3 separate regions of the Homo sapiens genome follow, and all the other regions are linked to region 3. The links are contacts of gene promoters, found by promoter capture Hi-C in blood cells and fetal thymus (Javierre and others, 2016). All regions are on one chromosome and are shown on one strand. Each heading gives the region's core, a stretch centred on a gene start or on the middle of the fragment in contact. The rest is flanking DNA. Distances are from core to core; before and after follow the strand shown.

Region 1 (3,975 bases), core at 407-2,906, 780 kb after region 3:
TCCTATCTCTTCTTCTATTTCATCCAAACATCTTTAAAGAGTTACCTATACTCAGTGTGACCACTTCATGTGCCATTCACTCTGCATCCCCTGCAATCTGGCTTCTGCTTTTGGTAAGGCCACCCATATTGTAGCTGGAAAATTCAGTGGACATTTTCCAATCTTTGTCTCACTGTATGTTTCTGGGGCATTTGGCCATGTTGCTTGTGTGCACCACTCACTCTCTATGATAGTCATATTATATTCTCTCAGCTTGCCTCATTTGTTTCTGTTCTTTCCCAACCATGGTCTCCTCTCCCTCCATCTACCACCCACATGCTGGGGTTACCTACCTTTCTGTTTTAGCCTACCGCTCTTCTCATTACTGATACTCTTCTTGGGTGGATTTTTCTACACTCAGGATTTCAGCTACCATCTGTATAGTAATGACTGTCTAGTTCAATCTCCATCTCCAATTTCTCCCCCAAGCTTTAGGCTCACCAATTCCATCACCTGCTAGGCAGCTTTTCTTGGGCACTCTTCAGACATTTCGGATTCAATTGCTCAAAAGCTACATGTATCACTTCCCTCCAACCTAAACCTCTATTTGTTCTGTTACCTTCTCTTTACCCAGTGACAAAAGTTATAAAATGTCTGCCTTGACTTTTTTCTTCTCCTCACTCCCTTTATCCAACTGATCATTACATCCTGATGTTTTCCCCTCCTATGCATTTCTCAAACCCATCCTCTCAACTCCACTCCTACCACCACTACCCTATCTCAAATGCACCTTCTTTTAACTGGACCAATATAACAGTCTCTCAATTGGCTTCCTGGTTTCTAGACCTGGCCCACTCCATTCTCTCTCCAGAGCTACCTGAATGATTCATATACAAAACAGTAATCTGACCCAGTCCTTCTCTTGCTAAAGTCATTCTGAATCTACACAAGGAAATTCAACCTCCTTTCCTGGGGCTGTCCCTTGTCTATCTCTTAAACCTTAGCTCCTACCACCCGCTGCCCCCTATTTTGACTCCAACTCTCAACCGGCAGTAGTTCTCTGCAAGTCTTCTGTTCTCTTTCTGTTCTTTACTTGCACATTTACCAATAAATATGTTTTACTCCAGTGTATTAGGTTAGTATTATAAGGGAAGTTTCAAGTTCATTTCATATTAAACATTAGAGCCTTCATGCTTAGGGAGAGAGGGAAAAAGAGAAAAAACCCATAGCTAAATACATAGTTAAGTCGCGTTCTTCTCCAACGCAGCCAAAAATTGGACTGGGCCTGAGATATTTGTGTGCCCTGTTTGATTGAAAGCTGTTAGAAAGTATGCCAAACATTTTAGATTTTTCGCTCCCAGAGTTCTTGTAAACCCGGCAGAACTTGTCTGTTATGAAGAGTGGACTGCCCTCTAGAGGTTCCCATTGGAAGGAGCACATCAAACCCACAGTGTTAAGGCATTCTGCAGTTTCTTGTGAGGTTTTGCTGTAGACATTTACTATTACTGTTCTTTGTCCCCAAAATGCTTTTCCAGATGTCTAATTCTGAGTCACACATTTTTAATTTACTTTGGGAATAGAGATTTGGGGTAAAGCATGTGATGGACCTCAAAACACTCAATTTGGAGTCAGGAGATGTGACTTTTAGTCCCGGTTCTTCCTTTAATATCTGAGGACTTAGATTTCATGTCTGTTAATCAAGTAGTAGAAGATCACACTTCAAAACTGTGAATCACCAGAAAGTATGTTTTAGGAGTAAAACTGGGAAGAGTTTCATTAATTCAGTAAATATTTAATATGGAAGACCCTGGGGTAAGAGCTGTTTTGCAGAAGCTAGGAGTTTACGTTTGATCTTTACAATGTTAGATGAAACATATTTGAAAAAAAGACACTTGGAAAACATTTGGGCTTGCAATTTAAATGGATGAATTTAACCCTGATATCATAGAACCCTGAAAGCGAAACTGAGCTAAAACAAAGTAAAACTTACTCTGATTCCAAGGGTCTCTTCTGACATGAGAGTGGAAATGAATCACACAACCACACACACACACCCATAGACACCCTAATATGCCATTAAGCTCTGACCCAAACCCCTTTTAGCCTGGTTTCCCCTTTTCTATTTTCAATCAAGAGAGAAAAAAAAGGAAGTCTTTCATTTAATGGTAAGAACCAACTATGGTCTCTGTATGCTCATATAATACTAAAGAATTATAGGTAAAATTATATTTTATGTACTTTATTATGGTACTATGTCAATTGACATTGAACTTCATAGTACACTGAAGAAAGGGAAAAAATATTAGGACACCATTTATGTCCGTAGTAACACTGGAAGTAAGATGCCGCAAAGCTCAGGACACAGTAGCTAGGAAACAAGACGTCTGAATTCCTGTGATTCCACACATGTTTGGAGGGATCTGGGGACACCAGCTGGATCTTCTGTAATGCAGGTAGCCACATCTGTGCACCATGGTTATGATGCTCACTTCTGTGGAGTTCAATGTTAATGTCCTCTTTGGCATCTACCTCCTCCAAGTTCAAAGCTGGACTGCTGTGCTGGGAATCCAGCAACCTGAACCTTTTTCTTCATTACAAATCTGGACATCTTTGGACTTGATTTCTGACATCAAATCAATGGTTTTACTTCTCTCTTCATTAGTTTACTGTCTGTCTTTACAAAGTCCTCTGGGCATTAGCAAAGACATGAACCTAACAGAATACCTCTAACATTTTGAACACATATAAAACATTAGTACTTGAAATTTTTCCTTATGTTTCTATAGCTAAGGAAAACTTTTAATTTTTTTTTTCTGTCTTAGCCTACTCTATCCAGCATTCCTTGCTGGAGGCACAGCTAGGATGAAAGCTTTGGAATGAGAAATGAAAGGAGTAAATAGACTTGACTTTACTAACAGTGTCCATGTTTTTATTCCTGAAAGTTATGACACAACAATTGTTAGACCATAATCATTAAGAAGTTCTGTCATCATCTTCTGTTAGGTTGAAACGTTCAACAAACAAAACAACAAACCTATTTTTATTCTGCTTTCATATTTCAAATGCATTTATGCACTTCAAATTTCAGTTTCAAATATTCTTGAGAGTTTCAAAAACTCTGCATCGTTTTTTGACTTATGACTTAATGCTATATGCTGCCTTATGCTGTTTTACTTCTGCTTTCTTCATACTTTGCTTCATTTATTATCCTATTCTTTCCTTCCTTCTTCCTTTGTAATCCTTGTTTATGGTATTATTAGAACTTGTAAATTTCTGTAGGTAGTGGTTACAATATAGGTAACTCACAAGGCCTAAACAGGTATATTTAGATAATAGAAAGTATTGAACTCTGAGTCTGGAGTGGGAAAAGTTGATCACATCACTTCTCCCCCCAAACAACTTTGCTCTGAGATTTAGTCTAAAGAGATTCACTTTTCAATAAGTAGAAATGTGATTTGGTGGATAGCTTGCTGCTCATTCCAAAGTATATTATATTTCTCTTTCTGGAAGCGAACCCCTGGGAAGAGGGTGCTTGGTGAGCTCTGGATGCCGTGCCCAGAGGCCAGGGGTTTTTGGAAATGCCGCAGAACATCCTGTTCCTGGGAGCCCTTCTGCCTGGTTGTTTGTGCTCTAGAGACTTGGCTCCTGGTGTTCTTGCTCAGACCTTTGGACTTTGGCAAGGCTACTTCTCATGTTTCTGTCTTCCTCTGTGTGCCATTCTGGCTCTGTAGATGGTTTGGTTTTTTGTGTTGTGACAGTGGAGGCTGCTTGGAGTGCACTGCCAGGCATTGGCTCATGGGCACTCTGCTCCATTTCAGTAACAGCAACAGAACTTGGATTTGACTGGGAAATAATAACCATTACTGGAAGAAAAAAGTAGCAAAACATATTTCCTAATATGTGCTAACATAATGAGGGGCCAGGTCTCCAGCTTTACGGGTGATTATTATAGTTTTTGATTGTTGCCAGTTACCAACACTAAGTACTTTAGCTGTG
Region 2 (3,793 bases), core at 1,022-3,521, 880 kb after region 3:
TGCAAAATTCTATTTTAAATAATATAGCCGTCTTTATTTTCTTGACATATTTATCATTGGAGTTCTATATGAAAATGCCTATAGATTCAGAATCCATCTAAATTTTACAGGTCAAGTATGACAAAATAATATTGAAATTGTAAATTGGAAAATACACACACCTTTTAGAGAAGTTACCATCTACCAACTTTACCACAAATTGAGAAAAGTATCTAGTATACACAAAGACTGATATTGGGGTTACCACTTAAAGATACACCTGCCAGAAGTCCCTGAATTACTTTCTCATGATATCTCCTCCCGTGACCAAATTTTGGTGGGTGTGCTATGCTAATTAAGTACTTAGAGTATGAACTCCTCCAGCAGATCCACAGACACTTTTCACATGATGGAAATAGACATGCTTGCAGCAGGTTGCTGAAGTAAATACAGCATCAAGGTGGTGGACACGACTTGGTTGAGTTCCAAGAGCTCAGCAACAAGCTACTCACCTGGCCTTCCCAAGTGATTAGAAGACCAAATATCTTGAGGGACATCTTTAATTCTACTGGTTGGGATGCTCTGACCTATAGAAATGGAAGTAAAAGAGTAAAAAAGCAAAGTCTATACACTGCAAAGGCTTTGAGGTGGATGAATAATTATGAAGGATTTTTGCTGAATGAACTAGATAAACACAAAATCTTGAATTTAATGTAGAATTGAATTGAATTATTAAAATGGAAGCAGTGAGTGCCATAAATTCCACTTGCTAGAAATAATTGATCTTTTCTAATGAAAATGGATAATTAAATGTGGCCATATACAAGTATTTAGGTTCTTTCTTTAACAGGTTCTTTTAAAATATGCATTTACTGAGTGAGTTGCAGAGCATCCCTGCTTCTGCTTGCAGGCAATGCTCTTGCTTCCTCTGTGCTCTCAAACATTGCCATTTTCGTATTAAACTCTCAGTGCATAACTGCTGTCTCTGCTCCTGAAGTATGTCTTTCTATGAGAATTATAGACTTTAGTATTGAAAAGTGACCTTGAATATTATACAGCTCCTTGCTTCTCAAAGTCTTGTCCACATACCAGCATTATAGGCATCACTTGGAAGCTTGTTAGAAATGCAGACCCTCAGCCCCCACCCCAGAACTACTGAATCAGAATCTGCATTGTTAATGAGTCCGTAGTGATTCATACGCAATTAAAGTTTGAGACGCACTGATCTACTTAACATGCCTGGTATACATGACACTCCTCTGTGATATTTTTTAACAAGTTGTTAGGCAATTCCTGGTCTCCCAAAGCAACCCATTCTTTGGTTTGGATTGGCTGAAATGGTTACAAAGTCCTTCCTTATAATGATATTATAAAACCTTTCCTCATTACTACCTCCAGTCAAGCATGCTAATTTTGCCCTCTAGTACCACACTGACAAGTCTCAATCTCTTTTATACATGATAGCAATTCATACTTCGAAGGCAGATTGTTATATCTTGCCTAACTTTTTTCTGCTCTAGGTTAAACATCCCCAACCTTTTTAACACTTTGGCATTCTGCTTGCTCTTGTCCGGATAGGGTCTTTCAATAGAATTTTTTAAATGTGGCACCCAGAATAGAATATAGTATAGTTGGCCAACTAAAAAAAGATAATTTATTTTTCCAACTTTTTATTTTGAAATAACTTTATAGTTACAGAAAATTAAGAAAAAACAGTACACAAAACTTGTGTATACCGTTCATGCAGCTTTCCCTGGGGTTTACATCTGGTGTAACCATATTACTATTAGCTAAACCAAAACATTAACATTGATACAATATTCTTAACTCATTTATAGACCTTTATATTTTTCCAACTGTTCTATTAGTATATCTTCTTTTATGGTCCAGTATTCAATTAAGACTCCCTATTGCATTTGGTTATTATGTCTCCTCCAAACTGGGATATTTTATCTTTGTCTCTCACAACCTTAAAACTTTTGAGGAGTACTATTCAGTTATTTTATATTATGGTCCTTAATTTTGGTTTGTCTGGTGTTTTCTAATGATTAGGCTGGGATTAAACATTTGTAGGAATAAGTGATGTTATGTCATTTTCATTGACTTGTATCAGGAGGTACATGGTGTCCATATGTCTAATTACTAGTGATGTTATCTCTGATCACTTGGTTAAGATGGTATCATATCAACCAGATTTCTCCACTGTAAAGTTACTATTTGAAAAATAATATTTCGGTGTAAAAATTATTGACAAACTCATGATGCAGAGAGCCATAATGTAGTAATACTCTCCAAATTTATATTTTTGGAGAAAATGAAAATAATTTTACTTTCATAGACATTTATGTTTGTGATATTCATAACTTCTCATTCCACATGTCAGGAGATTTTTCTGTGAGATTAAGTGAAATAATCCATTTAAGATACTTAGCAGAAGGGTGAGGACAGAGAAATCGCTTAGTTTGCTACTATTATTAATGCTATTAACCTATCACTTTCCACTTAATATACTGATATATTTCCATGTCAATAACTGTTCACTGGCATAATTTATAATGGTTGCATAGCTTTCCATTAAATGTGTTAAGTATACTTCAACTTATCAAGTAACGGAAGACACTTAGAGTGTATCTATTTGTTTGGCTACTATACTTTCAGGTAAAGTTGGTTGATTAAATATATGTGTCTCCTTTCATGCCCCACTAAAACCCCTCAAAAACTACAAAGAAGGGATTTTTTTAAGGACATAAACTTATGAAATGGGGAGAACAGGAGTAGAAGCAATCACAAAAAATTATGAAAGCAAAAAAGCAACTAATTTAGCAGACCCAAGAAAATGAAATGTTAATCCAGCAGCAGGGAAAGCCAAGAACTAACCCTTTCTATGCCTCAGAATTCCCCATGACTGAGGAATTGGCAGGCACCAAATAACTTGACATTAGGATGCAAATAGGTTGGAAAATAAAAAAAGATTGCTTTAAAGTCTGTTTCAAAAGCAATCTTCCCCAGCTTCCCTCATCACTCTTTATTGCAGAAAACTATCCCTTTGTCACCCAGCAAAGAGACTGAGGGTGTTTTCCCCAGAGACATCAGGCACAGTTAAAGGTGGAGGCTTCACACCCCCGAACCAACTGTAAGAAATTGGTCACCTCGGGGTTGCTTTCTAGCAGGTGCCACTGAGGGATAAATAATAATGGACTGATCCTAACTTCCCCTTTGTTTCTCACCTCCCTCCAGTGAACACAGGGATTAATCTGCTTGTTGTTTAAAATAATATAATCCTTGAAGCTGTTGTAAACAAGTAGAGGAAAGAAGACCTTCAACAATTGTCCCTAATTATGGTTAGAAGAGGGACCAATCCTGATCCCAGTTATGACAGGCAAAAAAATTGTACAATCAGTAAAACTGAAAGAGAAAACAAAGGTACTAAAGCAGAAGTGGCCCACGGCACATTACTTTAAAAGTTCTAAGTAAGCTTCTGATACTGAAACTCAGGAAATAGCTAACAAAAATCTGGTTTTCTGGCTTCTCTTTATAAACTAGAAAATGTTAGTCTGGAAACAGTGACCCCTACAGTTCTCAGACACTGAGACAAAGTATGAATTTCTGCAATTATGTTTATCCCACCTTTTTTTTTTTTTTTCTTATAATGGAGTTCAGAAATCCTTAACTCTATAAGGGGAAAATAGCAGAGAGAATTGAGGGTTTGGAGCTTCTCTCTTATGCCTGCCTTATTCCACTCAGTTATGGTATCTGCATGTCTCCTGTGAGCATCCGTGTCTCTAGCTCTTTCCTTGGACCCTGCTGTAGACTT
Region 3 (4,017 bases), core at 125-2,624:
TTGCGTATTTTTCGTAGAGACGGGGTTTCACCATGCTGGCCAGGCTGGTCTCGAACCCCTAACCTTCGGTGATCCGCCCGTCTCGGCTTCCCAAAGTGCTGGGATTACAGGCGTGAGCCACCGCGCCCAACACTGTTTACGTTTTTGCATGCTCCCGCAGATCTTTATCATGCTGCTTGAGTAACAATTCTGCTACACTAACAGATAAACTAACTGCAGACAGAGCATTTAGTGAGTTACGGCACAGACTCTTCAATTTTCAGTCGTGCTCTGACTGGCTCCCTGTGTAAACTCAGGCCAGTCATTTAACCTCTCTAAGCCTGTTTTCCTATCTGCAATATGGTGAAAGTGAGGATTATAGAAAATATTCCATATAAAAGTACGTGGCACGCAGCAGATGCTCAGTAAATGCTTAGTATAACGCTCAGCACCTAAGTGCCATGTGAGTATTAAATAAACAAATCTGTTCCTTACTACAATTATCTTAGGCAAAAAAAAACCTGCCAGATATTAGTATTCAGTTGACTTAAGTAAGTAGTATAACTCCTCTTTTAACTGTCAGAATATTAAAACTACTAGTGTGATGTGCAAATTATATACCCGAAACTAGATACAGAAATTGGAATTTGGCTTTGGGACAGAAATCTGCTTCTTCCAGAACTCTCCAAAGGAATTCAACAGTCAAAAGAGACCGGTTTTTATTCTGCAGCAAAACAATGATATTCTGAACCTACGTCAACTAACTGAACATGTCACACAGCCCATTTCCCCCTCCAGTTTCGCTTATCTCCTTTGCTCTCTGAAGGCAAGGAACAGCTATGCTTTCCCCTGCCTACAGCCTGAAACTTCTTACTAGGCCCCGCTCCTCGCCCCATGGGAGCACAGTAAATCCTGACTGCACGGGGTAAGAGAAGCAATAAGATGAGACAGGCTAGAGATTTCCCTGGGAAGGTATTCGGGGGGGTCTAAGGCATTCACGGCGCACCTGAGGCGGTCCACCCAGAGGCCCCACAAGGCACCGCCCTATTCAACTTAAGTGACAGCCGCGCCGCCACCTCATCGCCGCCCAGTTCACGCTCTCGCCGAACACTCAGCCACGCTTGCGCGGCCCAAAATGAACAGCCCCGGCCCCGATCCTTTCTTTCTCTAAGTACCATTTCAATCGCCTTTAGGATCCCTTGTGCAAAACCGACAGAAATCCAAACCCACCTGGAGCAGATGCTCCTCTTCTACAAACGCCGAGGCTGCAATGAGAGCGCATGCGCCTTTCCCAGGACTCATTCACGTGACTGGAAGTGGCTGGGTTCTGATTTGCTCGGTATTTGATTAAAAGGTCTTAACGTGGGTAAAAGCGGGAATTTCTCTGTTGCGCATGTGCGCGCTCTCCGCCTGATAGGAGTTGTAGTTCTGCGGGTGAAGCTCGGCGTTACTATCAAGCAACCAAACTGCAAGCTTTGGGAGTTGTTCGCTGTCCCTGCCCTGCTCTGCTAGGGAGAGAACGCCAGAGGGAGGCGGCTGGCCCGGCGGCAGGCTCTCAGAACCGCTACCGGCGATGCTACTGCTGTGGGTGTCGGTGGTCGCAGCCTTGGCGCTGGCGGTACTGGCCCCCGGAGCAGGGGAGCAGAGGCGGAGAGCAGCCAAAGCGCCCAATGTGGTGCTGGTCGTGAGCGACTCCTTCGTAAGTACCGCGAGGCAGGGGAGGGGCGCCCCGCTGGGGATCGGCGACCTCACCGCCGCCGCCTGTGCTGCAGGCTTTGGGGAGCAGAACCTGAGACATTTTCAAACACCTTTTACCCCGATGCAAAGAAAGAAATACATTTTATGTGAGGCCCCGTGTACTCACACGTACACCACATACCTATGCAAACATGTAAAACAATAGTGAAACACTGAAAACATCTTTGCAGATCTTTTTTTTTTAATACTGACCTCGATTCGCTAAATTATTTTACCACGACTAATGAACTTTCAGTCCATACCCCCGTTTGGTTTAATTGTGTGGTAAAATAACATTCTGCATCTCCATAAAAGCGTGTTAGCTTTCCAAAAGTCATTTTCCAGTTCACCTCAAGTTTGCAGGAATTCATGTTTGGGTGAGAAGTGAAGAAAGTTTATTTTTATTACCCAGGTCTGTGATAATCCTGTTAGTGCTGATTCAAATGGAATCGTTGGTATAACTTGATTCACTCCCCCGTATTCCAGAGAAATTGTGTGTATGTGTGTGTGTTGGTAATGTGGCTGAATCCCAAACTTAAACAGTTTTTGAAACTTTCCCAAGCCAAAGGTGCTACTGTCAACCTTACGCGATGCTTTTAGGATGATCCATGTTTTAAAAAGTGCTGCTTAGACAATTGTTTGGTTATTAATTGTAATATTAGTTTATTATCACTCGGTGTTACTGTGGTCACACAGATGTTGGTGTTAAGCATATCTGGCACTAAAGAGTGTTTGTAATCATATGTTGTATTTCCTTTCTCGTAGATTCCTGATGATTAAAATTACATAGTCTGGATGTGCCCATGGGATTTTTTGAAAATATTACTTAAAGTTATCTTTGTGATTTAAACTTAGAGAATGGGCAGTACTGGAAATTGACTAGATGGCATTTTATTACAGAGTGCTCTTGTAATCAAAGGCAAATGAAGGAAGCAGGATTGTGCAGAGGAGAAGCTGAATTTTGTTGCCATCTTATGAATGACAGTTCTCAAACTAGTATGGTGCTTCAGAGCTGCTTTCCAATAGGAGTGAGGAGAACAGACCTTTCCACCTGCATGTTGGATGGCCACTGGTTGTGGGCTGCTCCTAGAATGGGGCATGGTGTTGGGCAAAGCAGCTGTCTTCAGCAGAGGCAATTGTTCATTCCTAAAAGGGAATCCGAATGTGGATCACAACATCCCAGAAACTTCCAAAGATGACTGAGATATATAGGTTTGTTATTTTTTTTAGTGTAGTATGAATGCATAGATTTTTCTATATTTGTGCTTAAATTTTTTGCATTCACGGCCGGGCGCGGTGGCTCACGCCTGTAATCCCAGCACTTTGGGAGGCCGAGGTGGGCGGATCACGAGGTCAAGAGATCAAGACCATCCTGGCTAACACAGTGAAACCCCGTCTCTACTAAAAATACAAAAAAATTAGCCGGGCGTGGTTTCGGGCGCCTGTAGTCCCAGCTACTCGGGAGGCTGAAGCAGGAGAATGGCGTGAACCTGGGAGGCGGAGCTTGCAGTGACCTGATATCGCACCACTGCACTCCAGCCTGGGCGACGGAGCGAGAGTCCGTCTCGAAAAAAAAATAAAAATAAAAATAAAAAAATTTTTAAAAAATAAAAAATAAAAAAAATTTTTGCATTCACATACTTGTTAATATTCAAACTGTCCTATCTTTGGCCAGTGGAAGCCCCTTCAGGTGGTTCTGAGTCCTTTTGACCCATCCCCATTAGTATTTGACAGCTTGCTTTAACAGAGTTCCATGTCCACAATACATATTTCCTGTCCCATCTTGTATTTAGAGACCACAGTCTGAGTGTTAGGGTGTTCATTGCATCTAGACCTTTCCAGTGGACAAATCTAGAAAGTATATAATATTTTAGAATGAGAAAAATAAATTGTGAGATCATACTGATACTTTCCATTCAAATTTAAGATTACAAGTTTATTCTTTGATTTTTATACTTATATCTTTTTTGTTTTATGCCAAATATTTTGGTCTAAATGCATTAATGCAATTACTTATTTGCTTTATCCAAACATATAATATGTATATATCAATGTGTTTGAAAATAAGACTGTAATATTACTAGAAATAATGCTAGTCCTGAGTGCAGCTTACAGTTTCTTTGAAGTTTTTGTTTTAGGTATATTCAACTATATAGTAAAAATGTTGGTCTTTAAACTTAAAATAATTCCTCTCTCTATGATTATACCAGTTTGGTATGCTGTTAGATTCTTGACACTGTGATTTATCATTTCTAAAACTCTGCAGGCTAAGATAGAGCAGTTAAGCTGGATAATAATTGT

What was found. Contacts are between HindIII fragments. The CHiCAGO score rates a contact against its expected background, and 5 or more counts as called.
Region 1: a contact is called between a fragment that was not itself captured here and the fragment with the promoter of ARSK in region 3, in 1 of 17 cell types (naive CD4 T cells). The highest score is 5.2, in naive CD4 T cells.
Region 2: a fragment that was not itself captured here is called in contact with the fragment with the promoter of ARSK in region 3 in 2 of 17 cell types (total B cells and naive B cells); the score reaches 6.1 in total B cells.

What each region holds. Positions count from the first base shown.
Region 1 is chr5:96,335,191-96,339,165 of GRCh38, forward strand. The region is part of intron 3 of LOC101929710 (a long non-coding RNA gene); the gene reads left to right. The region is part of intron 1 of LOC107986365 (a long non-coding RNA gene); the gene reads left to right. It also overlaps a transcript of CAST not described here. Among named protein-coding and RNA genes, the nearest start is that of PCSK1, 96 kb to the right of the region's middle. The HindIII fragment of the contact is 2,380 bases long and covers 467-2,846 here.
Region 2 is chr5:96,436,568-96,440,360 of GRCh38, forward strand. The region is part of intron 4 of LOC101929710 (a long non-coding RNA gene); the gene reads left to right. It also overlaps a transcript of CAST not described here and the pseudogene LOC102724070. Among named protein-coding and RNA genes, the nearest start is that of PCSK1, 5.2 kb to the left of the region's middle. The HindIII fragment of the contact is 2,361 bases long and covers 1,092-3,452 here.
Region 3 is chr5:95,553,727-95,557,743 of GRCh38, forward strand. ARSK (arylsulfatase family member K) reads left to right here and starts at 1,375. Exons shown (of 8, transcript NM_198150.3): 1 at 1,375-1,678. The coding sequence starts at 1,553. SKIC3 (SKI3 subunit of superkiller complex) reads right to left here and starts at 1,251. Exons shown (of 43, transcript NM_014639.4): 1 at 1,210-1,251. The HindIII fragment of the contact is 6,579 bases long and covers 1-1,450 here.